3 separate regions of the Homo sapiens genome follow, and all the other regions are linked to region 3. The links are contacts of gene promoters, found by promoter capture Hi-C in blood cells and fetal thymus (Javierre and others, 2016). All regions are on one chromosome and are shown on one strand. Each heading gives the region's core, a stretch centred on a gene start or on the middle of the fragment in contact. The rest is flanking DNA. Distances are from core to core; before and after follow the strand shown. Region 1 has its middle 24 kb from the start of LINC00525. Region 2 has its middle 47 kb from the start of LINC00525. Region 3 holds the start of TNS3 (tensin 3).

Region 1 (4,847 bases), core at 1,401-3,900, 160 kb after region 3:
AGGTCATTTCTAGTTCACCCTATTAATGATTTGCTGTTCTCAATATAGGATATCTCTATCTTTTTCAACACAGCCCAGCATTTACTTAGTCATCCTACTTCCGACCTAAACAGCTGATTATTTCCAATGCATCTTAAACACAGTGCTTTATGATGGCCTCCCTACTCAGCCTCATGAACAGCCCAATCTATAGATGAGGCAACCAAAGCCCAAAGAAGTTGCTTCATGTGCTAAGGTCCCAAATCTCAGGGAGGACTGCAGAGATGGGGTTTGATCCACAGTGACTATTTACCTATTACGTTACTTTTGTGCAATGCTATTTCCAGTATATGCTACATCAGTTAGAATTGCAATTGGCTGCTATTAACAGAGACCAGGGGCGGTGGAGCGGGGGGAACAAGATAAAAGCTTCTTTTCTTCTTTTTCATAAAATCAGTCTGGAGGCAGGGCATCCAGAGAAGCTATGGAGACTTGAGGGCCACTTGGGACCTGGGTTTCTTCTCTCCCACTGCTTTGCTTGTCCCCTCCGGATGGCTCCCACCCTTACAAGCTTCTCATGAATCAAGGTGGCTGCTGGAGATCCAGCTCTCAAATTGAGATTCCAGGAAGAGGGGGAACAGGTTTAAGGGGGCCTGGGTTGGAGCTCTGTCCATCTCTTAAGGAGCTATTGCAGAAATCTTGCCTAACAAACTCCACTTATGTGTCATTTGTCAGACTGAGTGGCATGCAAGTACCTGGGTGTATGGGATGCGGGTCTGTATTTCCACTTAGAACTGCAATTCTGTTCCCAAGGGAAAAGGGAGAGTAGACAGGAAGGGCAGCCAGCAGTCTTGGTTACTTGTGTCACTTATATTTAGTGGCTTCCACAATGTGTACTCCTCTGTGCTTAATTCCAACAGAGCACTTTCATCCTTACGCTGTGGGATCCCATGCTTGCCCGCTCTAACCTACAGAGCGTGTCTTCTCTGGATGGGAGAGTGAAGAGTGGAGGGGAAACAAAGGCGTGAGCTTCTTTTTCCTGAATATCTTCTCACCATGAGCAGGCAACACATTAAGAATATGCTGGTCTCAAGGGCTCCTTTCTCCAGGATGGACACAGAGGGTTGCCCAGACTTCAAGCAGGAAGGCGTGGCCACTGCCTTCCACTGCCAAGATGTCTCTTTCTTTCTTTCTCTTTCTTTCTTCCTTTCTTTCTCTCTTTCTTTTTCTTTCTTTCTCTTTCTTTCTTCTTTCTTTTCTTTCTTTTCCTTCCTCCCTCCCTCCCTTCTTTCTTTCTTTCTTTTTCTCTCTCTTTCCTCCCTCCCTCCCTCTCTCTCTCCCCTCCCTCCCTCTCTCTCTTTCTTTCCACCCTCCCTCCCTCCCTCTCTTCCCTCCCTCCCTCCTTCTTTCTTTCTTTCCTTCCTTCCTCCCTCCCTCCCTCCCTTCCTTCCTTCTTTCCTTCTTTCTTTCTTTCCCTCCCTCCCTCCCTCCCTTTCCCTCCCTCCTTCCCTCCCTCCCTGCTTTCTTTCTTTCTTTTCCTTCCTTCCTTCCTTCCTTTCTTTCACGGAGTCTCACTCTGTCGCCCAGGCTGGAGTGCACTGGTGTGATCTCAGCTGGCTCACTGCAACCTCCACATCCTGGGTTCTCTGCCTCAGCCTCCAGAGTAGCTGGGATTACAGGTGCCCGCCACCATGCCTGGCTAATTTTTGTATTTTTAGTACAGATGGGGTTTCACCATCTCGGCCAGGCTGTTCTTGAACCCCTAACCTTGTGATCCACCCGCTTTGGCCTCCCAGAGTGCTGGGATTACAGGAATGAGCTACCGCGCCCGGCTGATGTCTCATATTTCTAATAGACTGTTTTCTGAGGGTTGATAGGGTTCAGGAGAGAGAGATGCGTTTCTCTTAAACGAGACAAATGAATGCCTGCAGGAATTAGGGCTCTCTACGAATCAGCGAGTTGGCTGCTGGGCTGCTGAGAACATGCCCTGGACTGGGGAAGCATCAAGTTTCAAAGCCCCCTACCCGCCATAGCTGAGTCCTCATGATCTTGGCCTCATCCTAGAAAATCATGACATTCTATTTGTTTCCTATTGTTGCTATAACAAAGGAACACAAATTTAGTAGCTTAAGACGGCTCAACTGCATTGTCTTAGGGTTCTGGAGATGAGAAAGGCCCCCAGGGCTGTGCTCCTTCTGAGGCTCTAAAAAAGAATCCATTGCCCAGCATTGTCCGGCTTCTAGAGGCCATCCACATTCTTTGGGTTGTGTCTCCTTCGCGCATCCTCAAAGCAAGCTGCACGGCATCTTCACATCCCTCTCCCTCTGTTCTCTGACCTCCGCTTCCATTGTGACATCTCCCACTCTGACTCTGAGCCTCCCTCTTATAAGGATCCTGTGATGACATTGGGCCCAGCCCCACAATCCAGGACAATCTACTTCAAGACCCTTAATTTAATCCCATCTACAATGTCCCCTTTGCCATGTAAGGTGCCGTACCCACATGTTCTAGGGCCCAGGACATGGACATCTTTGGGGGTCATTATTCTGCAGATTGCAGAGATGTTGTGGGGATTCCCCTCAATTTCTCCTTACTCCTCATTCACTCCTTCACTTTAGCCATTTAAAATAATTAGTCCCCAACAAGGCCCATCTGACCAAGGGCTGTCCGCCTGGGGTGCCAACTGTGAGAAGGGATGTGGGGAGCAAGTGAGGGGAGCAAACTGGGACCCACAGAGGGGCCTCCATGTCTGAACAGCTGGCAGCAGGACAGACTTCCCTGCAGCCAGTGCTCAGGTCCTGACCTGGAGGGAGGCTTCAGCTCCCACCTCCATCCTTTCCCTCTTTGTACAAGCCCAGAGGGAGGGAACCATTCCTCTGCCTCAGTCACAATCTGACAAAGCAGGACCGTTGTGCAACTTAAATGCTCCAGGCTGGGCTTTGGGGTCTGCCAAAAGCACAGCTGACATTCTTTCATTGTTGCAGGGCAGACAGTGGCAACAGGGACACAAGGGCATCTGCCTTCAGCTCATGTTGCCCTTCTCTCGTGGGAAACACAGAACCAGCGGAGCCTTTTTAATGTTCAGTCTTGAGCTGTTCACAGTGGCCCAGCTTGTTCCAATTTCCGGGTCCTGAGCCACAGGCTAAGGGTATGGATGTTGAGTATCTCCCATCCCCTGCCCTGTCTGAGACCATGTGAGGAACCTTTTAGGCCACACCTGTCCTCCGGTCCCATGATGATGTTCCTAGCGTTTCACATATGCTGCAAGTTGCCTCAATTATGTGGGGGCTGGTCCATCTTTCACTTGGGCTTCACAGCCTTCGCCCTCCCTGGTTTCAGACCCTCATCTTCAGGTGTGTAGCAAGACTGGTGTCTGCATCCTACAGCCCATAGCTTTCCTGATTCAAAATGTTAAACCACACTTCCCCAGGCTCTCACTGCAGCCTCCCATCCAGTCCAGACTGTGGCTGCTCAAAGTGTGGTCCCCGGACCAGCAGCCTTAGCATCTCTGGAGAGCTGGTTAGAAAGTCCACAACTTTAGGTCCATGCCAGACTTGCTGAATTCTAATCTTCATTTTACCAAAAGCCCCAGGTGGCATTTGTGCAAATTCAAGCACGAGAATCACGGCCTGGCTTTAGGAAACCATGCCATCTCCCAGAGTCGTACTTTCCTTGTCTGTAAAATGAGCAGTTGGATCAAAGGTGCCCTGAGTTTCCCCCTCTGTGGTGTCTTATGGCTCCTGTATGTGGCTCCACCTTTTGTAAAGTGTTTAACAAGAAACCGGCTCCATGAGCCTCACAAACCAAAGACTGAACAATAATCACATCAGTGGCTGAGTTGTTAAACTTCTAAATAGAATCTGACTTGTATGCTATACGATGTGTGACCGTAGTGAGTGACTTGGACATTTCTGGGGACTGCCCCACCCTTCTTGTGGGCCTAAGCCACAAGCCACATTCACACCTGAGTGTGAGGAGGCAACAGCCTCCTCAGGGTCTCTGCCTCTGCCTTCAACAAGCAGCGGAGAGCTCTTTGCAGAGCCCACACGGACAGAGCCTGAGTCCCTCCACCAGACCCTCCCCCACCTGCTGCCCCTTCTCACTTGCCCTTGCCTCCAGCAGCCTGGCCTTGGCTGGCCTTTGACCTCAGGTCCTCGGGCCTTTGCAGGTCATCCTGTGGGCCTGAGACATTGCCCCATAGCCCCAGCCTAGTCTGCTCTCCCAGCCCCCTCAGGTCTCTGCTCAAATGACACCATCTGCAGAGGCCTCTCTGGAGCAACTTATTTGATGCTGACACTTGCTTTCCACTAGCCCACACCACACTCCTGGTCCCTTTTGCCTTCCTCTAATTTTTCATTTTTCCATAGCAATTCCCACCTCCTAAGATGATGCAGCATTTACCTCCTGTGATGATGGCTGTTGCCCCACAAGGACAGGGATTCTCGTCAGTTTCAGTTCCCAGATGTTCCCCAGCATGGTAAATGTCTGGCACAGAGCATACACAGTATTTTTGGGAGGAACACACTTCTTATTCCTCAAAGTTTCAGGGAACAGGCCCCATCAGGTGCCTCTGTATCCCCAGGTGATGCCCAAGGGAGGCTGAGGGCTGAAGAGTGGCATTCTCCCGATGTCCTGACCTGGGCCACAGTGGGGACGGGAAGCCCTCTGGTATGGAGACTTTCACTGAACTAAACACAGCCTGGGTGGACTGGCCCAGGCCTGATGTGGTGTCCTCCTTGCCTCTCGCTCTGACCCACGCTGGCCTCCCCTTGAAGCTTGCCTGCCCTGAGCCTTGAGGATCTTTTCCTTGTTGCTGGGGCTTCTCTGCCTCCAGTTCTTTCTCTGCAGTGTTCCCTCAGCAGGAGGGC
Region 2 (4,642 bases), core at 1,047-3,546, 130 kb after region 3:
ATTGAAAATTGAGCTTGAGGCATCACAGTTGTCTTCATAAGCATAAAAGCCATAAACGCATTAGGCGACAAGCACTGCGCGCATACTCAGCCCCCCGCGCTCTCTGCTGCTTCTCGGCGCTTCAAGTTGACCTCTCCTGGGAGCAGGACCTTCCAAATGGAGGACTAAGGAAAGAATGTGAGAAGGGCTGGAAAGAGCTGTATTCTAAAATATCTATAAAGTGCCTTGAAAATTGCCAGGAGACATTGCTTGGGAAACCCTGACTTCAATTATGTCCCTACACTTCATAGCAGCTTGACTGCAAACTATCTTGGCTAAATTAAAACCTTCAAAGGAAATTCCTTAAAGTAAACATAAAAAGGTCATCTTTAAATGCACAAGAACTAAAATATTTGAGGTTTAGGAGCCCCAAAGTAGATGATACATCGTATATTGTCAATAGCCCATGGGACGTTTTATTTTAAAAACGCTTCCACTTCAACTTCAAGGGGTACGGGTACAAAGTAGGTAACCTGATAATTCCAAAAAATCCAAAAAGAAAGAAAAAATTTCCCCGTCAACAGCGATCACAGAAGTTCTATTTGAAACACTTAAAAAGATTAATTTAACAATCTTAAAATAACTCATCTAATACTGGTGGTAGTGTGAAGTAGTTATCCTCATGAGTTGCTCACACTGCAATTTGTAGGAGGCATTTTAGAATGCATGTGGCAATATCTGTCCCAAACTATATTTTATTTTCCCTGGCCCAGGAATCAAAATTCTTTTTTTTTTTTTTGAGACGGAGTCTCGCTCTGTCACCCAAGCTGGAGTGCAGTGGCGGGATCTCAGCTCACTGCAAGCTCCGCCTCCTGGGTTCATGTCATTCTCCTGCCTCAGCCTCCTGAGTAGCTGGGACTACAGGCACCCGCTACCACGCTTGGCTAATTTTTTTTTTTTGTATTTTTAGTAGAGACAGAGTTTCACCGTGTTAGCCAGGATGATCTCGATCTCCTGACCTTGTGATCCGCCCTCCTCGGCCTCCCAAAGTGCTGAGATTACAGGCGTGAGGCACCGCGCCTGGCCAGGAATCAAAATTCTAAGAGTCTATCCTAAGGAAATATTTCAAAAGAGGGAACACTTTAGAAGCAGCATAATTCTCCTTGTAGTATTTTATGCTTGAGGAAGAAGACAATCACCTGTAGTAGGGGTTGGCAAACTATGTCCCACAGGCCAAACTGGCCTTCCGGCTGTTTTAGTGAATAAAGTTTTATTAAAACACAGCCACGTTTGGTGGCTCGTTTATGTTTTGTTTTCACACAATCACAGCAGAATCGAGCAGCTGGAACAGAGGCCATGTGGCTCCTAAAGCTGAAAAATATTTACTACCTGGCCTCTTTTGTGGTACTGAGCTTTGAATCCTGAATTATGATATCACTCTATTCATCAAGTTATTCTCTTTATAGCCTTCTGTAAATCTTAAATTTAATCCTAGATATTTCAGATTTTTTTTGCTGTTGTGAGTAGAATACTTATTAAAAATGATATTCTCTTGCTAATATTGAAAAAGCTTTTGATTTCTAAATATTTATATTATAACCGACCACACTCTGAATTCTCTTATTTCATCAATTAAGCTTTACTTGATTCTCTTGATTTTTTTTTTTTTTTTTGAGATGGAGTCTCGCTCTGTTGCCCAGGCTGGAGTGTAGTGACATGATCTCAGGTCATTGCAAGCTCTACCTCCCGGTTTCACGCCGTGCTCCTGCCTCAGCCTCCCGAGTAGCTGAGACTACAAGCGCCCGCCACCACGCTTGGCTAATTTTTTTGTATTTTTAGTAGAGACAGGGTTTTACTGTGTTAGCCAGGATGGTCTCAATCTCCTGACCTCGTGATCCACCTGCCTAGGCCTCCCAAAATGCGGGGATTACAGGCGTGAGCCACTGCGCCCAGCATCTCTTAAGATTTTGTGTAGATATTTTAAATTAGTTTTAAATAATTAGTTTGTAATAATTTTAATTAGTTTATCTGGAAGTAATAAACTAATAGTTTACCCCCTCACTTCCAGTATTTTTCTTTCATCTTCTTATCGTACTGAATCACTTGCTATTTCTAGGTCAGTGTTAGATACCAATAGTGAAGATGAGTACCATTCTGCTAATTTTGAAATAGCCTTGACCTAGTTACTCAGAAGTCAGGAGCCTGAAGCTAGCCCTGAAAATCCTGATTGCAAAGAGTTTTATATTCCCCTGAAGAAATTCCTCCTGATCAGCTCACTCCACACAAGGCAGCTGCACACAGAGCAACTGAGACATCCATGCTCTGAGCAGAGTTCCGGGTCAGCCCTACCTGGGCCACTGGGGAGGAAGCCATGAATTCTTTCTGCTCTCTGATCACTGGGATGTTGGTTCCAATGCTTAAGATTTCCCCCCCAGGCACATAAAGACAGGTGTGAGGAATACAAATTTCAGAAGCTAAATAAACCAAATAAAACATTTTAGTCAAAATATGAGGTAAGCACCCACAGTACGGAGGGTGAAAACATCTGTGCTTTGATAGACAGGTTCTGTTTCTGTCCTATCTCCTAAAATCTCAGTGACACTGGCACGCCTTCTCTGAGTCTCAGTTCTCTCAACTGTAAAATGAGAAATAATACCTAAACTCTAGAGTTCTTGCAAGAATTAGAAATAATTCGTAAGTATGGTTTGTAGGAGATATTGAATATATAATTAGTAAGTATCACATGTAGGAAATATTGAATAAATCCTCATAAAACAGCAGCAATAACCATCAAAACTTTCTCGGCAATTTGAGGAAGTTCCATTGGGTGCTGAAAACACAACTGTCCTTTGAACACAAGGATTGACTGTGGGGGAGATGCTGTGGTCTTGGATGGTTGTCATTTGCATAGTTTCTCTTTCAGGTTTCTTTCCTTCCAGCCATGCAGACCAACATCCAATATGATCACAGCAGATGCAATCTCAGTCTTTACTTAAAGTAAGCTTCCTTTGCTACAGAAAGGCCTAATCTTTTCCATTCATTTTTTGTGGACCACCACAGTGCGACACCCCCACCCCAACCCAAGTAGGCACATGACAATTGTGAAGTAACCAGAGGTCATTGGTTGTGACCCGCGGGTAGCCATTTTGACCCATGAAGGCCCTGCGTGGGGCAGGGCAGGTTACATGTCAACATATACTTCTGGAAAGTGCTTGATCATATGTTCAACTAAGAAACCATTGGCACCTCCTCTCATCCCATGCCTAAGTCCTTTCCTCAGCATGCTCTGTTAGGGAGACCCCACCTATTTTGTCTCTGCCTAACAATCATACATGGGGGCCTAATGTCCCTGGTGTTACAGATTAATGTACAACATTGTCACCCCTGCTAAAGAAGGACTCGCTGGGCTTCCCATCTGTAAACAAGAAGGCAGGGCTTGCATGCATGAAACACAAGGACCCTGGACTTGGTGCAAAGGGCTCTGACTTGGTGCCCGGCTCTCCAGCTGGATCTAGGCCTGTCCTTTAATTTTCATGTCTCAGATGTCTAACCCGAAAAAGGGGAGAGAATTCCAATCATTACTCTGTGTGGAAAAAGTAAAGCGTCTCTTTTTTGATGGGATCTTTATCCATTAATAATTTAGTTGGACTAAATTATTTACATTTAACTTGTTAAAGGTCTATTTATTTATATATTTTTAAATTTTTATTTATTTATTTTTTTGAGATGGAGTTTCTCTCTTGCTGGAGTGCAATGGTGCGATCTGGGCTCACTGCAACCTCTGCCTCCCGAGTTCAAACGATTCTCCTGCCTCAGCCTCATAAGTAACTGGGATTACAGGCACCTGACACGAAGTCCGGCTAATTTTTGTATTTTTAGTAGAGCCGGGGTTTCGCCATGTTGGCCAGGCTGGTCTTGAACTCCTGACCTCAGATGATCTGCCTGCCTCGGCCTCCCAAAGTGCTGGGATTACAGACGTGAGCCACCGCTCCTGGCCCTATTTATTTTTTTAACCTAATGACCTAATAGCACTTAATAAATAAATTTATTGTCTATTGATGATTCCTAATACATAAGCCATTAAAATCCATCCTGGAAGAATGCCAAATATTATTCCGAATTAAAATAGAAAGTAAGAAATATCGGGGTTTGGTGCAGTGGCTCATGCCTGTAATCCCAGCACTTTGGGAGGCTGAGGCAGGTGGATCATGATGTCAGGAGTTTGAGACCAGCCTGGTTAACATGGTGAGACCCGGTCTCTACTAAAGATACCAAAAATTAGCCAGGCATGGTGGCGTGCACCTGTAATCCCAGCTACTCGGGAGGCTGAGGCAGGAGAATCGCTTGAACCCAAGAGGCGGAGATTGCAGTGAGAGGAGATTGCTCCATTGCACTCCAGCCTGGGCGACAGGGCGAGACTCCATATTAAAAAACAAAAACAAAACAAAACAAAACAAATATCAAGCTTTGTAAAAGTGAAAAAAATCCTTGCAACTATTCACAGTTTGTCATATGTGTAGGGGATAAGTATTGAAGTGGGCAAAATATTTTCTCTCCCTTTATTTAATCATCACAATTACTCTACAAGGCAAAAGCAATTAGAACAGTGTCTGGGCCAGAAATAAATCTGTATATCTATGGGAAGTTGATTTTAAATTAGAGC
Region 3 (4,689 bases), core at 682-3,181:
GCAGCAGCCAGGAACAGGGGTCTGGGACCCTAGAGTCCTGTCCCAGAATCCCAGGCTGCACTACCACCATGTTTCATTTCATCTCGGCCAAGTTACTTAGCCTTCCTTTGCCTCAGTTTACTCGTCTGTAAAATGGGGTAATCATAATCCCAACTCCCTCCAAGGAATGTAATTTGGGTGAAATGAAATGAATGCATGCAAAGCATTTAGCACAGGCAAACACTCAATCGGTATGCCTGTTACTTTGTCTTCGGGGTCACCATTACTATTCCTAAGGTCAGGAGTCGGGCTTGCTGCCAGTTCCTCCTGTCAATTCCCTGTGTACACACCCCCCACCCCCTGTGCTACCACACCCCCACCAGGACCCAGTGCACCTCCATCTCTGTGTAATGGCCTTGCCCCTCCACCCTCCAGCTGCAGCGACTCCCCACCCCCTCCCTGGCCCTCAAGGCCTCAGCACAGAAAAGCCTTTCTTAATACTTGTTGATTGATTTGCAAATATAACCTCACAGGCCCCAAAGAGAGAAGAACCAGAATCACCAGAACAAGTAAACCTCATTCAAAAGGGAAAGCATGAAAGCAATTTAAAAAATTAATATGCACAGACCAAAGCCTCAAGAAAATCTAAAATGTCAAAGGGTTGGTTAGTTCAGAAGGGCCATGCAATATTAATACAATGAGTTCTGCATTCATACTTTTCAGTATATTTTCAGAGTCCTCCATGATCATGCATTCAAATAGTGAAAAAAATGGGGGGAAAGCCAACCCGGAAGATCAAAGTGTGTGAATGCGCCCCAAGGAAGCCTGGGGGCTTCCCAGGGGGTTGTGACCACCCTCAGTAGTGCTCTCTGCTGGCCCCACACCCTGATGGCGCTTTGAGTTTTTCAACCACGCTGGAGTTCGGGTCATCTGCTGACACTGTCTGGAGAATGCCTGAGGAACGCCTGAATCTCTTCCCGCCACAGACACTCAAATCACTCCAAGCAAAGGACCCGGGACTCACATGTCAGGCCGCTGCACAGCACCGACACAGAGACCCCTGGGCCGTCCGGGACCCTCCCTCCTCCTGCTTGTCAGCGACAGCTCCCGCGTGCCAGGAGGCACATGCCACACAGCTGGCCCCCAGCCTGGGACAGCACCCCCCACCCCAGAATATCCCCCCACCCCGAGGTCCCGTCCTTCAGGGAAAAAAAGGAAGCGCGTAAAGACCCCCTGCCTCCCACCCACCAAAGGGAAAGGGAAAGAGACGCACTGGAGAGCTTGCCTAGAAAAAGTAGGAGAAGGGTCTTGAGCCTGCCCATTGAAGCCCCTAGCTGCGCTCTCCACCTGGAGTCTCGAGACGGAGTCCTAGGGAGCAAAGTCCGCTCGGTCCCGACAGCGACTGCGACATAGCTGCTCCGGTCTCTGCCCTCAGTCCAGGGCGCCCGGGCGCCACGGGTCCCACTCGAGTGGTCCTGCGCCCCAGCCAGTCCCCAAACCCAGCCAGTCAGCGCCCCCGTCCCCGGACTCCGGCGAAGCTGGCCCGCGCCCCAGCCCCTGTCCTGGGACTCCTGCCGAGCCCCCGCCCCCCACGCGCCGCAAACCCCGTACCCGCGCGCACCAAACCCCTTGCCCGTGCGCCCCCAACCGGGTCCCCGCGCTCCCTAACCTGGGTTCTCCCGTGACCCCATCCCCGCGCCCTGAGCTCCCGTACCCCGCGCTCCCCGAACTCTGTCTCCGCGCTCCCCGAACTCAGTCCCCGCGCCCCAGCTCCAGATCTCTGTGCTCCCCAAGCCTCGTTCCTGCGCCCGGAGCGCGAAAGCCCGCGCCGGGCCCGAAACAAAGAGGACCGCGGCGCGTGGCCGCGTTTCCTCCTTCCCCGGCCCCAGTACCTGGGGGAGCCTGAGGCGCGGTCCGGCAGGGCGATGGCCGCAACGAGGCTGGGCTCCGAGTAGCGCGCGGGCGGGCCCGTCCTCCTGGCTGGCTGCCGGCGCCCGCGGCAGGGCCCCCTCGAGGCGGCGCGGGCAATCGCCACGGCCGGCCCCCGCGCCCGCGCCCCGAGCCTGGCGGGTCACCTGGCCTCATCACCCTAACAATGCAGCGCGCCTCCAGGCGCCCTTCACCGGGGTCCCCCGCCCTGCCGAGGTGCGCCCTGGGACCTCCCTTCGCTGGCCGCAGAGAGGACCTGGAATTATCAGACCCATTGAGCAGCCCAGGCTCCAAGTGGTCTGGAGGCTTGCAGGTTCCGCCGGGCCGGTGTTAGAGTACCTGGGGAGGCGGGTTCGGATCCTGGTTCCTGCACAACCAGTTCATTCTTTCATTCAGCGCCTGTGATTAAGGTGCTCTCCGGGAGCAAGACCTACCCTCCCTCCTGTAGCTCATAGCCTAGTGGGAGTCGCGCATACATAAAGGAGCACAGCCGCTCCGGAAAGCCTAGGGTGCCGTAGAAGCCCCTGAAATACCCAGCTAATGAAGGGAGGAGGTCAGGGAAGTCTTTAGAAGTCACATGACTTCTTAAAATGCGCCGGGACAAATGAGCAGAATTTAGGCAAGCCAGGGGAAACCAGAAAAACGATCCCGAGCAGAGAGATTCTCAGAGGAGGAAAGGCCTATAGGTTGTCCATCCTGACTGTCCATCCCTGAGATTCAGATGGCCCTGAACTCAGTCGCTTAGCCTCAGTTTCCCCATTTGTGAGATCGGGGGAATGGAAAAAGTTTGCAGAAATCAGAAGTGCTCTTCCTCCAGGGAGGTCACAAGAGAAATTTCATCAGCGGTTTGTCCTGTGGTCCTTTCCAGGAAAACATCCTCCCCGCCAGCCTCTCACAGAAGAGACCTAGATTTCATCTGCCACGTGGAGCAGGCGGTCTCAGAATCCCACCCGGAGCAGGGTCCAGGGCAAGTCTTGGAGGACAGTCACCAAGAACTGCTTTGGATTCGGGAACAGAGCTGCCTAACCCATCCGCAGCCCTGGGGTCCTGCCCTGTTCCTCTGGCCCCTTCAGGGCAGCGGGGGAAGCAGGGAAAACAGCCTGTCAGAGATGGCAGAGAAACCGAGCAAGAATAATTATCCTGGAAAAGACTTTCAGAAGTAACCACCAGAAACTTCGAGTCCCCAGATCCAAACAGCTGAGAATGTGGGGCCTGAGCCACGCTCTGACTCCACTCCCACCACATGAGGAGAAACAAGAGCTGCTTTTCTGGAAGACTTGAACAACCCCTGCTGTGCTCTGGAAGGTAGTGTCATTTCTCATCCCCAGACTGATCTGGGTATTTATTCCCAGGCAAAGGCTTCATGAGCACCATGCCCCAGCCCCTAGAGATGAGGCAGGCATTTTTCCTACACTCTAGGAGACACCAGGTCAAGAGTCAATGAGATGAGTCAAGGGGTGCCAGGGAAGATGCCATAGGGGAAGGTGGGGAGGAGGTCACAGCCAGCTGGGTTAGGAATGGGGGTGAGGCTGGTACTGTTACGATCTCCTTTGTCCTGATAAGGAAACAGGATCTGACATTCTAGGCAACTTGTTCAAGGTCACCCACCTGGTCAGGCGAAGAAAGTGGGAGGGATCAGGACTATCTGGCCTTGAGGCTACTCTTAACTTCTTCCCAGCTGCCTGCCCACACCATCCACTCTGTGCAATTGGACTAAATCATCACTTTGCTCAACCCTCTCTTCCATTAAGACCGTGGTGATCTTCACACCCAGAGCCAATTACGTGCTATTCTGTGCATCACAGAAACCATCATAATGCCAAAAACCATGTTGGCTGAATGACAACATGAATTTGAGCTTCTTGCAGTGTTAGGGCACCCATTTACAGGAGGTGACACTGTTGTTTGTCTGAGAGCTCACAGTCAGGAAAACTCAGTGCAGTGCTGGGGTTCTCTGACCCTTTGTCAGGGAGCCTCTTCTAAAATCTCTCCAAACTGCTACCCACACCCAAGCCAGATGGCCCCACCGGCCACACTGCCCTTGTTGGGGTAGCAATGGAATGGGATGCCCCAACCACACCTTTGTTTCTAGAAAAACTGTGACTTGGGTGCTCATTCGTGCAGTGTCTGTGGTTATATTCCCTGGCAGTGTCCCAAGAAAGGAGAAGAAAAACCGGGCTCCAGTATCCCCACGCACTCTGTGTTGGCTGGGATGGCTGTTCCCCGGGTTCCCCACACCTCGTCTAGAGGCACATGAAGGGAAGCCTCTCTGGATCCCCAATCGGGACCTGGGCCCCTTCCAGAGCTTCGCTTCCCCAGCCCAGGGCCTCCCCACTTCGCAGGCTGCAACTTCAAGTTTCCAAGAAATTAAACAAAAACAGGGCATGAACCAGTATCTGAAAAAGGGAATGTGCATTTTTTCCATCCTTAGCCATCCAAAAAAAACTCAACTTTGAAAACAAAAGTCTCCAACATTTAGCTGAAAAAAAAAAAAAGCAGCAATATGCCAAGAGTGGCCTCTCCCTCCTAGTATGCCAAGCAGAGGGCAGGGGAGTCTGGGCAAGAAACTCCCGCCAATCTCCTTCCTCCCTGAGCCCTTCTTTGCAGACTCATTCTTGCTCCTCCCCTGTAGGAGTTTTAGAAGATGTGTTGGAAGCTTGTCATTGCAATGAAGATTGTCTTTGCCACCGCAAAAATCTGAATTTGTATCCCTAGATCAAGGGAGGTATATGAGCAAGGACTTGGATATTTTTCCTTATTTCTTACTTTCTGTCACTGAAA

What was found. Contacts are between HindIII fragments. The CHiCAGO score rates a contact against its expected background, and 5 or more counts as called.
Region 1: a fragment that was not itself captured here is called in contact with the fragment with the promoter of TNS3 in region 3 in 6 of 17 cell types (total B cells, naive B cells, M0 macrophages and 3 more); the score reaches 32.9 in total B cells.
Region 2: a contact is called between a fragment that was not itself captured here and the fragment with the promoter of TNS3 in region 3, in 7 of 17 cell types (total B cells, naive B cells, M1 macrophages and 4 more). The highest score is 34.4, in total B cells.

What each region holds. Positions count from the first base shown.
Region 1 is chr7:47,734,860-47,739,706 of GRCh38, forward strand. No RefSeq gene overlaps it. Among named protein-coding and RNA genes, the nearest start is that of LINC00525, 24 kb to the right of the region's middle. RefSeq lists an enhancer at 4,530-4,847. The HindIII fragment of the contact is 4,204 bases long and covers 549-4,752 here.
Region 2 is chr7:47,712,550-47,717,191 of GRCh38, forward strand. No RefSeq gene overlaps it. Among named protein-coding and RNA genes, the nearest start is that of LINC00525, 47 kb to the right of the region's middle. RefSeq lists enhancers at 2,650-2,729, 3,282-3,576 and a silencer at 3,282-3,576. The HindIII fragment of the contact is 1,365 bases long and covers 1,615-2,979 here.
Region 3 is chr7:47,580,180-47,584,868 of GRCh38, forward strand. It overlaps TNS3 (tensin 3), which reads right to left and starts at 1,932. Exons shown (of 31, transcript NM_022748.12): 1 at 1,872-1,932. RefSeq lists enhancers at 1,268-1,805, 1,806-2,343. The HindIII fragment of the contact is 9,706 bases long and covers 1-4,562 here.